Linked DNA regions of Homo sapiens: regions 2, 3 and 4 are each linked to region 1. Evidence: promoter capture Hi-C in 16 types of primary human blood cells and fetal thymus (Javierre and others, 2016). All regions are on one chromosome and are shown on one strand. Each heading gives the region's core, a stretch centred on a gene start or on the middle of the fragment in contact. The rest is flanking DNA. Distances are from core to core; before and after follow the strand shown. Region 1 holds the start of SCN7A (sodium voltage-gated channel alpha subunit 7). Region 2 overlaps XIRP2 (xin actin binding repeat containing 2). Region 3 overlaps XIRP2 (xin actin binding repeat containing 2). Region 4 overlaps XIRP2 (xin actin binding repeat containing 2).

Evidence for each region. Contacts are between HindIII fragments. The CHiCAGO score rates a contact against its expected background, and 5 or more counts as called.
Region 2: a fragment that was not itself captured here is called in contact with the fragment with the promoter of SCN7A in region 1 in 1 of 17 cell types (fetal thymus); the score reaches 7.7 in fetal thymus.
Region 3: a fragment that was not itself captured here is called in contact with the fragment with the promoter of SCN7A in region 1 in 1 of 17 cell types (fetal thymus); the score reaches 5.3 in fetal thymus.
Region 4: a contact is called between a fragment that was not itself captured here and the fragment with the promoter of SCN7A in region 1, in 1 of 17 cell types (fetal thymus). The highest score is 5.1, in fetal thymus.

What each region holds. Positions count from the first base shown.
Region 1 is chr2:166,492,568-166,495,734 of GRCh38, reverse strand. It overlaps SCN7A (sodium voltage-gated channel alpha subunit 7), which reads left to right and starts at 1,486. Exons shown (of 26, transcript NM_002976.4): 1 at 1,486-1,767. The HindIII fragment of the contact is 2,984 bases long and covers 1-2,020 here.
Region 2 is chr2:167,234,747-167,237,913 of GRCh38, reverse strand. All of the region lies in intron 5 of XIRP2 (xin actin binding repeat containing 2), which reads right to left. Among named protein-coding and RNA genes, the nearest start is that of B3GALT1, 57 kb to the left of the region's middle. The HindIII fragment of the contact is 1,018 bases long and covers 934-1,951 here.
Region 3 is chr2:167,198,979-167,202,145 of GRCh38, reverse strand. The region is part of intron 3 of XIRP2 (xin actin binding repeat containing 2); the gene reads right to left. Among named protein-coding and RNA genes, the nearest start is that of XIRP2-AS1, 60 kb to the right of the region's middle. The HindIII fragment of the contact is 2,293 bases long and covers 488-2,780 here.
Region 4 is chr2:167,179,481-167,182,647 of GRCh38, reverse strand. The region is part of intron 3 of XIRP2 (xin actin binding repeat containing 2); the gene reads right to left. Among named protein-coding and RNA genes, the nearest start is that of XIRP2-AS1, 40 kb to the right of the region's middle. The HindIII fragment of the contact is 1,008 bases long and covers 1,041-2,048 here.

The sequences.
Region 1 (3,167 bases), core at 237-2,736:
AATATGCTTATAAAGTTCTTAAGGCAGAAATGTTGAAAACAGACCCTCCACTATGTAGTTCCTCCTGCTGAGAAACTCAGTGGGGGAGGAAGGATCCTCAGCTCATTATTAGGGGCACGATAATTGCCAAAACTTTTCAGATCCAACCTGGTAATATTACATAACCGTTATATAACCGTAGTGCCAAATATTTGTCCCAAAACAAATATTTGTTCCAAAACAAGAAAATGGCTAGCTAACTCAGAATATAAAACCAACACCATTAGTTTCCCATCTATTTGCCTCTCATTTATGTGATTGGTTTGTACAATATCTTGGGATCAACTGCCTGTTCATTACACATTATAAAAAGCAGTACTTCTTTTTATTTATTTTAAATATCACATGGAAACTTTGAAATATTTGATATTAAGTTCATTAAATTTATATTGTGTTTGAATGTACAGAAAGGTGTGTAGAATTTTACTGGGTGAAAAGGGATATATGTGTCAGACTGCTCTAAGGGAAGGTTTTATGCTCTAGAAAATTCATTTGCATCATCACCAGAGTGTGGAGAAGAGAAGCCTGCAGTCAGTCAATTGTCCATTATAAAGAAATCAAGTGAATGTTTGATGCTACAAAATAATTATTGCTAATTATAGATGTGATCAGGGTATTGAGTTAAAATCTTAAGTTCTTACCATTCAGAGACATATGCTGATATATTTTTGAAGTAAGTGATGTGATGTGTGCATAAAATAGGGTTACAAAATGAAGGTTCTATGGTGTGGCCTTTGGGAAGAAGGTGCAACCCCTCTGGCCTTCACTCCCAAACTACACTGTATTGCCGCAGTTTTCTAAAATAAACATAATTTTTCCTCTGTCCCTCGTGTTTCAAATCACTAGAGTGGGAAACTGATCCAGAGTAAAAGCCAGCTCCAGCTGACTCTTGACTCTCCTAAAAACAGCTACACACATACTCACACAACAACAGGATTACAAACTCTTAATTACAGCAATGTCCAGATTTGAATGCTGCAGGCTGACAATTGCCCCTCTAAGTTCTGCTGGGGCACCTAGGCAAGGGGAGAGAGAATACAACTGGAGGTTAAAGAACCAGAGTTTTCTGTCTTCCTCTCCTCTCCCTCATTTTCACTCTCCCTTCCCCCTCAGCTGCACCGCGCTGCTCCTTTTCCTCTCCTCCTTGGATGTTCCCTAGCCCCTTCATTCCTTCACGCTCTGCAGGCCCTCTCCCCTCTACCCCTCCTCATCAGCCCCCCGCTCCTCTTCCTCCCTCCCTTCCCGGCAGCTGCTGGAGGAGACGCCACAGCTGCTGCTGTTACTGCATCTGCAGCAGGTCTCTGTCAATATCACCCGCCCACGCCCGATCTGGATGCTGAAGTCGCTCACTGGCCTGGAGATTAGGGCGGGGGAGAGAGTGGAGTGGCTGGGAGAGGGGAGGGAGGAGTGGAAAGGAGACAAAAACAGCTTCCAAGCAGCGGGCGCGGCTCCACTGGACATCTGGGTAGGAGGGGTCTCTGGGTCAGTGGCTGGAGAGTCGCCCCAGTGAGTCGGTGTCTAACTGGCCATTTAGTGGGGCCCATTTACTGCAGAGCCACAGCTGGTGAGGACAGACGCCAGCCTAACAGCAGCTTCTGTACAACTAGAGCTCAGAAAACCCGAGAGATCCGTGGAGAAAGAGAAGCCCAGGAGGAGGAAAGGGCTCCAAGGAGCCCTGCTCCTGAAGGGTCCCTCAGGCACTGGTGGAGACCTGTCGCTTCGTAGCAAGTAAGTGCCTTTTTCTTGCTGCTGTGTCCAGTCCCAGAATGGTGATAGCCGCTATCCGCTGCCAGCCTTTCCCATCCACTCCCACCTGCCCCATCCCATACACACCCTTAGGGTCCCCAGCAGGAGGACAGAGATTTGAAATTGTGGACGTGCATTAGGAGAGTTACTTCAAGAGTATACTTCAAGAGCAGCCGTGGTCTGTGGGTGTTTGCATGGCATGTGCCGTCAGTTTTCTAATTCCATCAGGTAAGCTTCTGAAACCAACATTCTCTGTTAGTGTAAAATTCTAGAAACCCTATATGACAATGACTTACATTACATGGTACAATGATAGTATAAAATGGAGGAAAGGTTATGCAGATTGTTGTACACTTCTTCTAAGAATCCTATCTCTTATTCTAAATAACAGAGATTTCAAGATTGATTTTCCCAAAGGAATAGATAGTATAAAAGTAGAGGCATTGATGTGATTGGCAGTGGTGTGCTCAGTTTAGTCAGTTGGGCATTTTGGTATTGACTAGATCAACAGAGATTGTTGTTGTTGTTTTTGCATTGTTTTGCTCTATAAAATGCATCTCTTCTGGAGGTTTTCTTTTAGAAGTGATAGTGTGACTGGTTGTGTTAGCTTCAAAACTTAGAACATTGGTCAAAACAAGACAAATGATGAGTGCATGTGGAATGACACACCGATGGGCCCCTTTCATTAACGAAAATGATGGGTTCCAGTTTGGATATTGGACTGAAAAATATCTTGAAATGGGAAAGAGTTTGGGTGGTGCTTCTTGTGGATACTTTACCCCACTGCTGTTCATTCAGGAGAGCAATTTATGGCAAAGTAGAAGGAAAGTGGGCCCTGTAATAAACAGAATCCTGGGCACCATACCTGCTATGACTAGCCTTAATTAAAGATTCTATAATCCAGCTGCTGTTTTTACAAGTAAGACCTATAAGGAGTAATTTGCTGAGGCTACCTGGCAAATCAGTAATTGAGCGGGAAGTCCAATGAACAAGTCTTTGGGATTTAGAACTACAAAACTTGATTTCAATTTTTGTACAAATTAAGCCAATTATTTAACTTGAGTAAGCTTTATTTTCTTTATTTATAAATGACACTCCAAAAAGTCCTGACAAAAACTAATTGACAGAGATGATATAAAGGGTTTATGAAAGTACCATATGTGTAACTGTTGATTACATAAGGGATTATTCTGTGTTTTTATCTACTTCACTATTCTGATTTTCCTTCTAAGTCTGATTCAATATAAGCATACAGAGGGCTTTGACATGCATCTCTAGAATGCACTAGAGGAAGTGAAATTCAAATCCTTTTCTTGCCACCTGTACAGTTTAAAGCATATTCTAATCTGAAAGCCTTTATCCTCAAAAAAGTGAAAAGTGTG
Region 2 (3,167 bases), core at 193-2,692, 740 kb before region 1:
ATAAAAAAAATGCATGGGCACTAATGACAGCTCTTTACCTCTGTGACAAGTCTTTCCATCTATTAGGCATATAGTGGGAATATTCTATGGCTTTCTTATGCACACACTGAGAAATAGGAAGTACCAATTAAACAGTGAAGTAGCAAAGGAGAATGTGCACCTGATCAGAACCAAGGTCCCTATGAGGGGCACCGTGATCATTTCTATAGAATCATGTCTCCGCCTAGAGGCCTACATGCCCGCTGAGGCCTGGGGATGTGCTTTATTTGGCCCACACAGTGATTTTAAAGTTTCGAATTAGGTAACATCTACAAAAATAAAAAATTTTTTCTGCTTTTAAAAACTCTGAAGACATGGTAACACTGTGTTCATATTTTAACATGGCAGAGTCTGGCTTTTAGTTGGGCATATACCTTGTAGTTGGCCACCATCACTATCACTTGCTAATATTTAAGAGCAAGATGACATTTAAAAAAAAAAGCAACAAAACTTGTCTGGTACCCATGGAAATTTGAGTTTCAGATACCTGCCACCAATCTGAAAGAGTAGAGTTAGTGACATAAATCTCTGTGTTGAGAAAAATGCAAAATATTTGGAATAGAAAAACTGTAAATAAATGTAATTTTGACACATATTTTAAAAGTTATTTTCTGGGACAAACACTTTGTAGTTAATATGTATCTACTTGAGTAAAAACAATCTATGCCTATCATCTGTAAATATGTTTTCTTGTAGGAGATGACACAAAATAAACAGTACAAATGTACATAAATTTTGTTTAAAGTCGTAAGTTTCTACTTCAGCATTTATGTGCTATTTCCAAATAGAACTGTAATTGCCATACTAGTTTGGTATGTTAGCATCAATGCATCAATTTTACTGCCCTCTAGTTACTGTAACTTACATAAAATATTCCTTAAAATATCCCAAGCTTTTGTTTCTACCATTTACTGTTGCATATTTTGCAACTAGTTTAGTTTGGATTTAAAATCTGACTTTCTAATTGTTGGTGTCTATAGAGTATAGGGTTAGGTAGAAAGCTGGATCATCGTAATGCTCAGGCAGAAATCAAATTAAATAAAATGTTATAAACAACTCTGTTCGGGTCACCATTCATAAATTCACACCAATAATTCATAAAATTGGTTGCTGAAAATTAAATTTAAATATAGACCAGTCTGCAAGAGACAAATGTTATTTTGTTCACAGGTCAATTAACCAGTATTCAGGAATGGGAGATTAGTCCTAACTCTTTCCTTTACTAGGTATGTTATAATCTTGGGAAAAATCATGAAGTCACACTTAAACTCATGTCTTTCATCTCATGAGGCATTAAAGGAAAGAAAAAGAGATGATGTATATGCTCTAACTTTGAAATCTAAAAAAGAAAATGCAGTACAACAGCAAGACAATATTATGGTGTTTGCATAGCTCACATCAGTCTGATGTCAGCTTATATATTAACCAACTATATCACAAAAATCTATTGTTGATATGCACATCTTCTAAGGAGATTTCTCCTGCACAGGAAGCAGTTCGTATCCTGCCTATTCAACTTTTCATTCTTATATCATTATAGGGAAAGACATTGTAAATTTCCCAATAAAATTGCAAACTCATTCTAGTGCAATGAGTAAGGAAAAAGGACAGGCTTTAAAAAAACTTTTTTTTTTATGGCGACTCACTATTATTGTGACTCTTGGAAGTATATCCAATAGAAAAACCTATGGGGAAAGACTGGCAGAATAGTAGAGGGTAACTGTCTCACTAGAGTGGAAAAAACGGAAGTTCATGTTCAATGCCAGTAATACAGCATTTTTACTAATCTCATTTTTAATAAAACTAGAAACAGTTATGATATATTAATGTTATTTACATCTTTGTCAAACAGACATAAACAATACCAAAAACAGGCTGTTCATGTGAGCAAAAATGTCAGTGGATTCAAGCTTTGAAAGAATAATCAGTTCATTTTTTCTTTTAAGTGATGAGCATAGCAATTTGTGGGTGACCATTGTGATTGTCTGGATTTAGATACATTAAAATTCAAACATTGAATTTTTTCCTTTTGCCCTGAGGTTTCTCTTTTTATTTTTATTAATTTTCTCTTAAAAATTACAATATGCAACTTGACATCTCTAAGGTGTGAGCTTTATGTAAAGGCTTTTCCACATTCATTATACCCTCTTAAAGACTTAGCTCAAAAATTACTTTCTTTTTGAAACCTTTCCTGACTTCTATACAGGGTGCACTATTCTTGCTTTTTCTATTCCTGTGATATTAGCACACATCTGTATTATCTACCTATCACATTTCATAGTCATCATTTGCTAATATGATTCTCTCCTTTAACAGAACTCTGTCTATCACATGCATCCTCAAATCCCAATGATTAGCTTCCAGGTACACAGTAGATAGCCAATAAAATGTCAAGGAGTAAATACATGGGTAAATACAGTAGTCACTTTTTTTTAGTAGTGTGAAAATTTTATAATTTTTAATCTGCTTTCAAAATTGAGATTCCAAATTCTTCCATATAAACCTATGATTTTTTTTGTTGTTGTCATTTTGGTTGGTCATCCCTTTCACACTAGCAATAATATATCAATCACTTTACAAAGTGCACTCAGAAAGAGGAGTCTCTTCACAGATGTTCATAGATCAGAACATCTATGGAAAAATATGTGCAGTTCTGTGATGCTGTAAAGGGTAGCTGACACCATCAGAGCAAGAAGAAGTCTGTACCAAGAAAGCAATAAATACACTAGAAGCCCAGATCCCACCATTATGCAATATATCCATGTAACAAACATGCACATGTACCCTCCTGAATCTAAAATAAAAAATCTGTGTACAAAGAGAGCAAACACATACACAGAGGTAAGGATTCTTTCAACATAGGAAAAGAAAAAGATATTCATGATGCTAAACAAACTCGTTTCTATGTTGTTTTGTGAATTGTTATTCACTGAGTTAATGGATTTGACATGTTGTCAAGGATCATATAGAAACTGTAGTGGGATGCATTGGGCAGAATTACTATGACATTGAATAACTATGTTGAGATATTTATGATGACACTGAAAGACAATTATTTATCTTCATTTTTTATTTATAAAAATAGGAAAATAACATTAAGGGAAAAGAAGAGTTAAGGCAATTCCAAG
Region 3 (3,167 bases), core at 385-2,884, 710 kb before region 1:
TTTTTACAGCATAAGTCTCTTGTTGGACATTTCTCTAGTACAATCAGACGTATATTACATTATAATAATGATAGCTATCAGTTAATGAACATAATGTGTTAATTATTTTACATGTATTATCCCATTAATTCTCATAACAACCATATATGATGGGTGGTTTATTCCCATTTTAGTGTTGAGGAAGTAACACTCAGAAGATAATATCATATAGCAAGTAGCTGAACCCGGAGTTGATTTCAAGTATTTCTGCATACAACTTTCAACTCTACACAGTCTCTTACGTAAATATATTTTCATTAAAATATAACATTTTTATTTCAAGGTAAATTTTTAATTAAGGGTATGAAACTCTTTTCTGCTTCCTAAAATATATGCACTTAAATCCTTTCTAGACATTGACTTCAGCATAATCTAAGGATAAATCAAAGGGAAATAAATAAGCTGAATTTCCACAGCTATCAGTGGCTGTTTTTCATTATTACAAGCTTGAGTTTAGAATTAGAAATCAAAGCAAATTCCTCAGCTATATTGCTTTGGTCACCATAGAGATCAAACTTAAGAAGGGGTTAGGGATAGGTCCAGTTGAACAGAGAAGGGAATAAACTTAACTGCAAGGAAGGGAAAATGCAAAGCAGGGGCCACTGGTCTCATTTTCAAGTGATCTACTGTGCTCCAGGGGATGGGAGGTGGTGTCGCGCTTTCATCCAAATGTCCCCTTGTCTAAATCCGCATCACAGGTATATACTGAAGGTATATGGTACCGTTCCTGCCCTTCCTTCCCCTTCCTTCCTTCCTTCCTTCTTTCCTTCCTTCCTTCCTTCCTTCGTTCTTTCCTTCCTTCCTTCCCTCCCTCCCTCCTTCCTTCTTTCCTTTCTCCCTCTCTCTTTCTTTCTTTCTTTCTTTCTTTCTTTCTTTCTTTCTTTCTTTCTTTCTTTCTTTCTTTCTTTCTTTCTTTCTCTCTCTCTCTTTCTTTCTCTCTCTCTCTCTCTTTCCCTCCCTCCCTCTCTCTCTCTCTCTTTCTTGACAAAGCCTCACTCTGTTGTCTAGGTTGGAGTGCGGTGGCATGATCTCGGCTCACTGCAACCTCTGCATCCCAGGTTCAAGCAATTCTCCTGCCTCAGCCTCCCTAGTAGCTGGGATTACAGGCACCCGCCACCACACCCGGCTAATTTTTGTAGTTTTAGTAGAGACAGAGTTTCACCATGTTGGCCAGGCTGGTCTCAAACTCCTGGCCTCAAGTAATACAGCTGCCTTGGCCTCCCCATGTGCTGGGGTTGCAGGCGTGAGCCACCACACCCGGCAGGTATATGGTACATTTTCCTCTTAGGGCTTTAGTCCTGCATTCTATAAACATCTACTTCCCAGCTACTGTCGGCTAGGCATGGTTGTCAGACCTGGAGACAAATTAATCACCATTATAGTCAGTCATGCTCCATTTGAAGAGGAAAAAAAAAGAATAACACTAGAAAGATTCTCAAGAAATACAGTATTGATCTGACCTTATTTCTAAAAAGATAAATATAACAGGTTTTATGAATGTATATGACATGTAAAGTGTTCGTTTATCTGTGGTTTTGGCACTAGGCCGTGAACCACCAATTTTTCACTGACAAGCAACATGAAAGTCCACTGGAAATGTAAAGTTCATGAAAATCACTCTAGCACGTTACACTGTAGAGACAGATCTGCTCTTTCCACCCCGCCCCCTTAATGGTTCCTCATGTTTTTTTCCTGCTCTATGTTTTTTAGGTAAAATCATAAAATCGTCATTCAAAGTTACTCACTTTAAAAATTTGCTATGGGACCTTTGAGAAATAGGCTCGGCACAGTGAACACTGGCCGTGACCTAGACCAGCCCAGGTGATCACTAGGCCAGTCTTTAAGTCCCTGCTGCTTTGTGGCAACCTACCAAAGGTAAAGAGAAGGAAACTGTATCCTTCATTGATGATTCATTCTACCGTTACTGTGCTTAGTACCCATGTGTTGAAAAACTCTACATTGTGAGGAAAACCCCTAAATATATTGTTATGTTTGGTTAGTTTGAATACGCATCTCCTTTCTATTTAATTTCATTACTCATTCTATTTAAACTAGTTGCTATCCTATTCTTTCTAAAGTCTCTGTTTTAGAAAATCCAAAAATTTCATATCATTCTACATAATTCTGTTTCTTACAGAATTGCTACCTCTTTGACATAACTTTTTTTTCTGACCCTAATTTTCTAATGTATCCCTTTTTCATTCCTACCGCTTCATTTGTGCTTTTCCTTTTCCCAAACTTCCTTGTGATTCTCAGCTTTCCAGATCCTCCTTTATGTGTGGTTTAGTTACTAAGGGTCTGTGCCCTTGTGGCGAGAATGTCATCTTCTTTCTGGTTGTCTAAGCTGGAATGAAAACTTGAGAAACAGCAAGCAAATGTGCTCACCCCTCAGCCATGGAGAGACGGTAGGCAGGCTCAGTCTATGATTAATAGAAAGTGTGCGTGCCTCTGAGGGACTGGTTAAAATATCCACTAGTGCCCCTAAAACAATTATGGCCTCCAGAATACACAGAAAGTGATTTAATTCTGGGTCAAAGCAGTGCATTGGTAGATGGGGATGACCTGTGCATACTAGCTTAAAATCTTTTTCCTCAAATGATCAACCCTTTCTTTCATAGGCTTTGTAAAATTCCATATGAAGCTGGGTCATGTGTAGTGAACTGTTTTGTTTAATTCCAAGTATGCTGTTGGCATTCAACAGAGCAAAAAATACGCCAAGGTAATGTAATGGAGATTAAGCTTTAATAATCTGTGGCTTTGAAAAGTGTCTTCCTGGCAGGCTTATCTTTAAGTTGTTTGAATGTACACAGAGGTAGGAATGTTAATCATTTACTGATTATTACCTTAAATCATTTTTGTGCTAAAAGCATTCTGTAGGAACTAGAGGTATCTGAATGTGTTTTAGGAATTTCCTCTCTTCACCTTCATCCCAACTTTCATCCCTCTTTTAAGGTTAGCATCTGAAATTTATTTTGACAAAAGATATTAAAAGAAAGCCCAGATCATCAAATCCAACTCTCACCAACTTATACATGACACCCTGGCAGCTTTTCTCCTACTAATCACACTTCTTGTTTGAATAATAAAATGTATTTAATTCAATCCAATTTTTGTCTTAGAAAAATCAA
Region 4 (3,167 bases), core at 295-2,794, 690 kb before region 1:
AGGACAAAAGTTAATAATCAGCAAAAGTGGGAATTGAATTCATTTCTGCTGACTCTACATGTTTGGATTATTTGGGATATTATTTATCCTGACCTTAATCTAAAAGTTCTATACAAGCACTACGTTGGGTGATATGTTTTGAGAGGGATCAACTCTTCCCCATAATAAATTCTTAGTGTAGGCCTGCAATAGGTAGGCTCTGGCAAGGCCCTGTCTCTGCATGGTAGCAAAGCGAACTATCAGGGGAGGTATGGGAACTTTAATGCTGGGACAACTGTAGTTCAGTCATCTGATATGTAATTCTGACCCAATGGGGCCCATCTAAGGTTTTTAGAATTAAAGAGCAAACATATGAATATGAAAGTTTCATATTATTAGCTAGCATACACAAAACACTAGCCCACCAATTAGGATTTGGCAATCTGCTTTGACCCTTGTAGGTAGCATGACCCATTGACCCATTCAAGTGTCATGTAAGCATAATTAGGGTATTAGTAATTGAATTGCAGTTAAATTTAATCAGGTATAATTTACACTTGTCCAAGTTTAATTCCATTAAAATTATATCATGGTATTAATAAAGTATGAATAAGGTCTTTGGGCATATGACTCATATTTAAATCATATCTCATAGTGTTAAGTAGAGCGACCGTGATAAATTTATCATGCAAGCCAGGGGGCTTTGGGGAGTGAAGAAAGCACCATTAATAACTATGCCAACATAATGGCATAAGCTGGGATGGTCCAGGGGAAACAGGGATGCATAAACACCTGACCAATGAGCCAAATGTGGACCGTCTTGACTCACCACTGGAGCACACACTGAGTAGGATTTCTAATGATCTGGCTCCCAATATAAAAAATAAAAGTAAAACTGTTCTTTACTAGTTACGTCAGTGTTTAAAGGATCATCTCTGTCCTATAAATATAATTTTGATCAGACATATCCCTTACAATAAAGACAGGAATGAATGAAAGAACTATAGAGAATCAATGATATTTGTTCTGGAGGAAAAAAGGTAAGGTATAATAAGGAAGCTTCCTTGTTAAAAAAAATGGTGCAGGTCCAGATGTTCTTGATAGGCTTCTTGTCAACCTTCAATTAAAATAATTTAAAAAATAAAAAATAACATTAATTACTAATAATGAGAGAGAGACAGTAAGAATTTGAAGAAAAACAAGAATTTGAAGAAGACAAAGAGGAAGAGGAGTTGGAGAAGATATGCTGAAATTCGTACAGAATTTCCAATTGTGGTTATCTTTGTGAGCAACAAACGTGAATCACAGTTTTGGATGACATACTGCATAGGACAAACTCTGAGTCAGAGAAGAACAAATAGTTTCCCCAAATAATAGAGAGAGGCTTGGACTCACTCCACAGTCTAAGTTTGCTTTGACCAAAACTAGGTGGGCTCACCAATTCCGTGTAAACATCTTCTGGACCAGCCCAAGCCACAGCCCTGCCTCTGCTACACCCCTACCCCATCATTATATACCTATGCACACACCATGTCTCTCAAGAGAAAAGGAAAAGATAGGGATGTGTTGTTAGGTTTTTAAGGGAACAATGCTTTAGAGAAGGGATGGTGGAACTCTGTAATATTTCATGGTTTGTACCATACAAAAGGAAGTTTACACATTGTATCTGAAAACACAAGTTAGGATTGTAAGGTATAGGATAGAAGTCATAATTCTATTCAGCAACTTTGCACAGTATCAGTAATTCAAGATTTTAGATATAATTCAGAAGGAAAAGAAAAATCAATGGGAGAAATTACAGGATCCAAGTATTTAGTGATGGCACAATAAGAAAAATGTACTCATCTTATTGAAAGGAAATGGTGGACCTCAGTCAATGAAGACCCAATGCAAGTGAAGTAAGTGGACAAGGTAGAATAAAGAGGCACTGCTCAACAATGGTAAGGGACAGTGACTGAATGAGGCACAGAACTGATCAAGTTTATTAGTTTATTCCAAAATACCTGAAAAAGTCACAAAGATACAAGCTACATTCTTGATGTGCTCAAAAAGATTCAGGGAGAGAAGCTTCTATGAAAGTGGATTAGCTGTTATTAAGGAGACAATAAAATGAAATAAAATAACGAAAACAGTGAAGACTAAAATAGACTGCAAAAAATGCAAAATTCAACAGAAAAATTAAAATGGCACTTGATACAGAAAAGAGCACATATAAAAATGAAATTCAATCAATGTAATGGGGAAAATTTTGAGAAATTTTTCCATAACACAGGAGCAAAATCAAAGAGATGAAAATGAAGACCTAGATAAGGATTAATATGAAGGAAGAGGTATGATCAAAGAAACATAACTGTTTCAGAGGAGGAAAGAGCAAAATAGCACAGAAATAAATATTAAATTTAAAAGGAAAGAAAAAGTTTTTGAGGTGAAGTAAGATCTGAGATGACAAAACCAAAGGCTCAAGACATCTGGATATGCCCTTATAAATTTTTGAATTTTAAAGATTAAAAAGTAATGAATAAAGAAAAAAGACAACTGATCTCAGAGTTCTTCAGTAAGATACGCACTATGAAACAGTGGAATATTAAGTGAAAGGTGTTTCAAGTTTGTTTGTTTTTGTAATGGACATAGATTTGAACAGATAACTCTATTTGTAGACAACTTTCTGTTATTTATGTATGAAGAATATAGAGGCATATTTTAGAATATATAAAAAATTTCTGATCAGGTGCAGTGGCCCATGCCTGTAATCCAGTACTTTGGGTGTGTGGGGCGAAAGGATGACCTGAGCCCAGGAGTTTGAGAAGAGCCTAGACAACATAGGGAGATCCTGTCTCCACAAAAACACACACACACACAAATTTAGGCCAGTGCAGTGGCACATGCCTATAGTCCCAGCTACGTTAGAGGCTGAGGTAAGAGCATCTCTTGAGCTCTGAAGTCAAGGCTGCAGTGAGTAGTGATCATGCCACTGCACTCCAGCTTGGGCAACAGAGCAAGACCCTGTCTCAAAAAAAAAAAAAAAATTATCAGATAAAGAAAATGATTAGGCTGGGTGCGGTGGCTCACGCCTGTAATCCCAGCACTTTGGGAGGCCAAGGTGGGCAGATCATGAGGTCAGGAGTTCGAGAGCAGCCTGGCTAATACGGTGAAACCCTGTCACTACTAAAGATACAAAAAATTAGCCA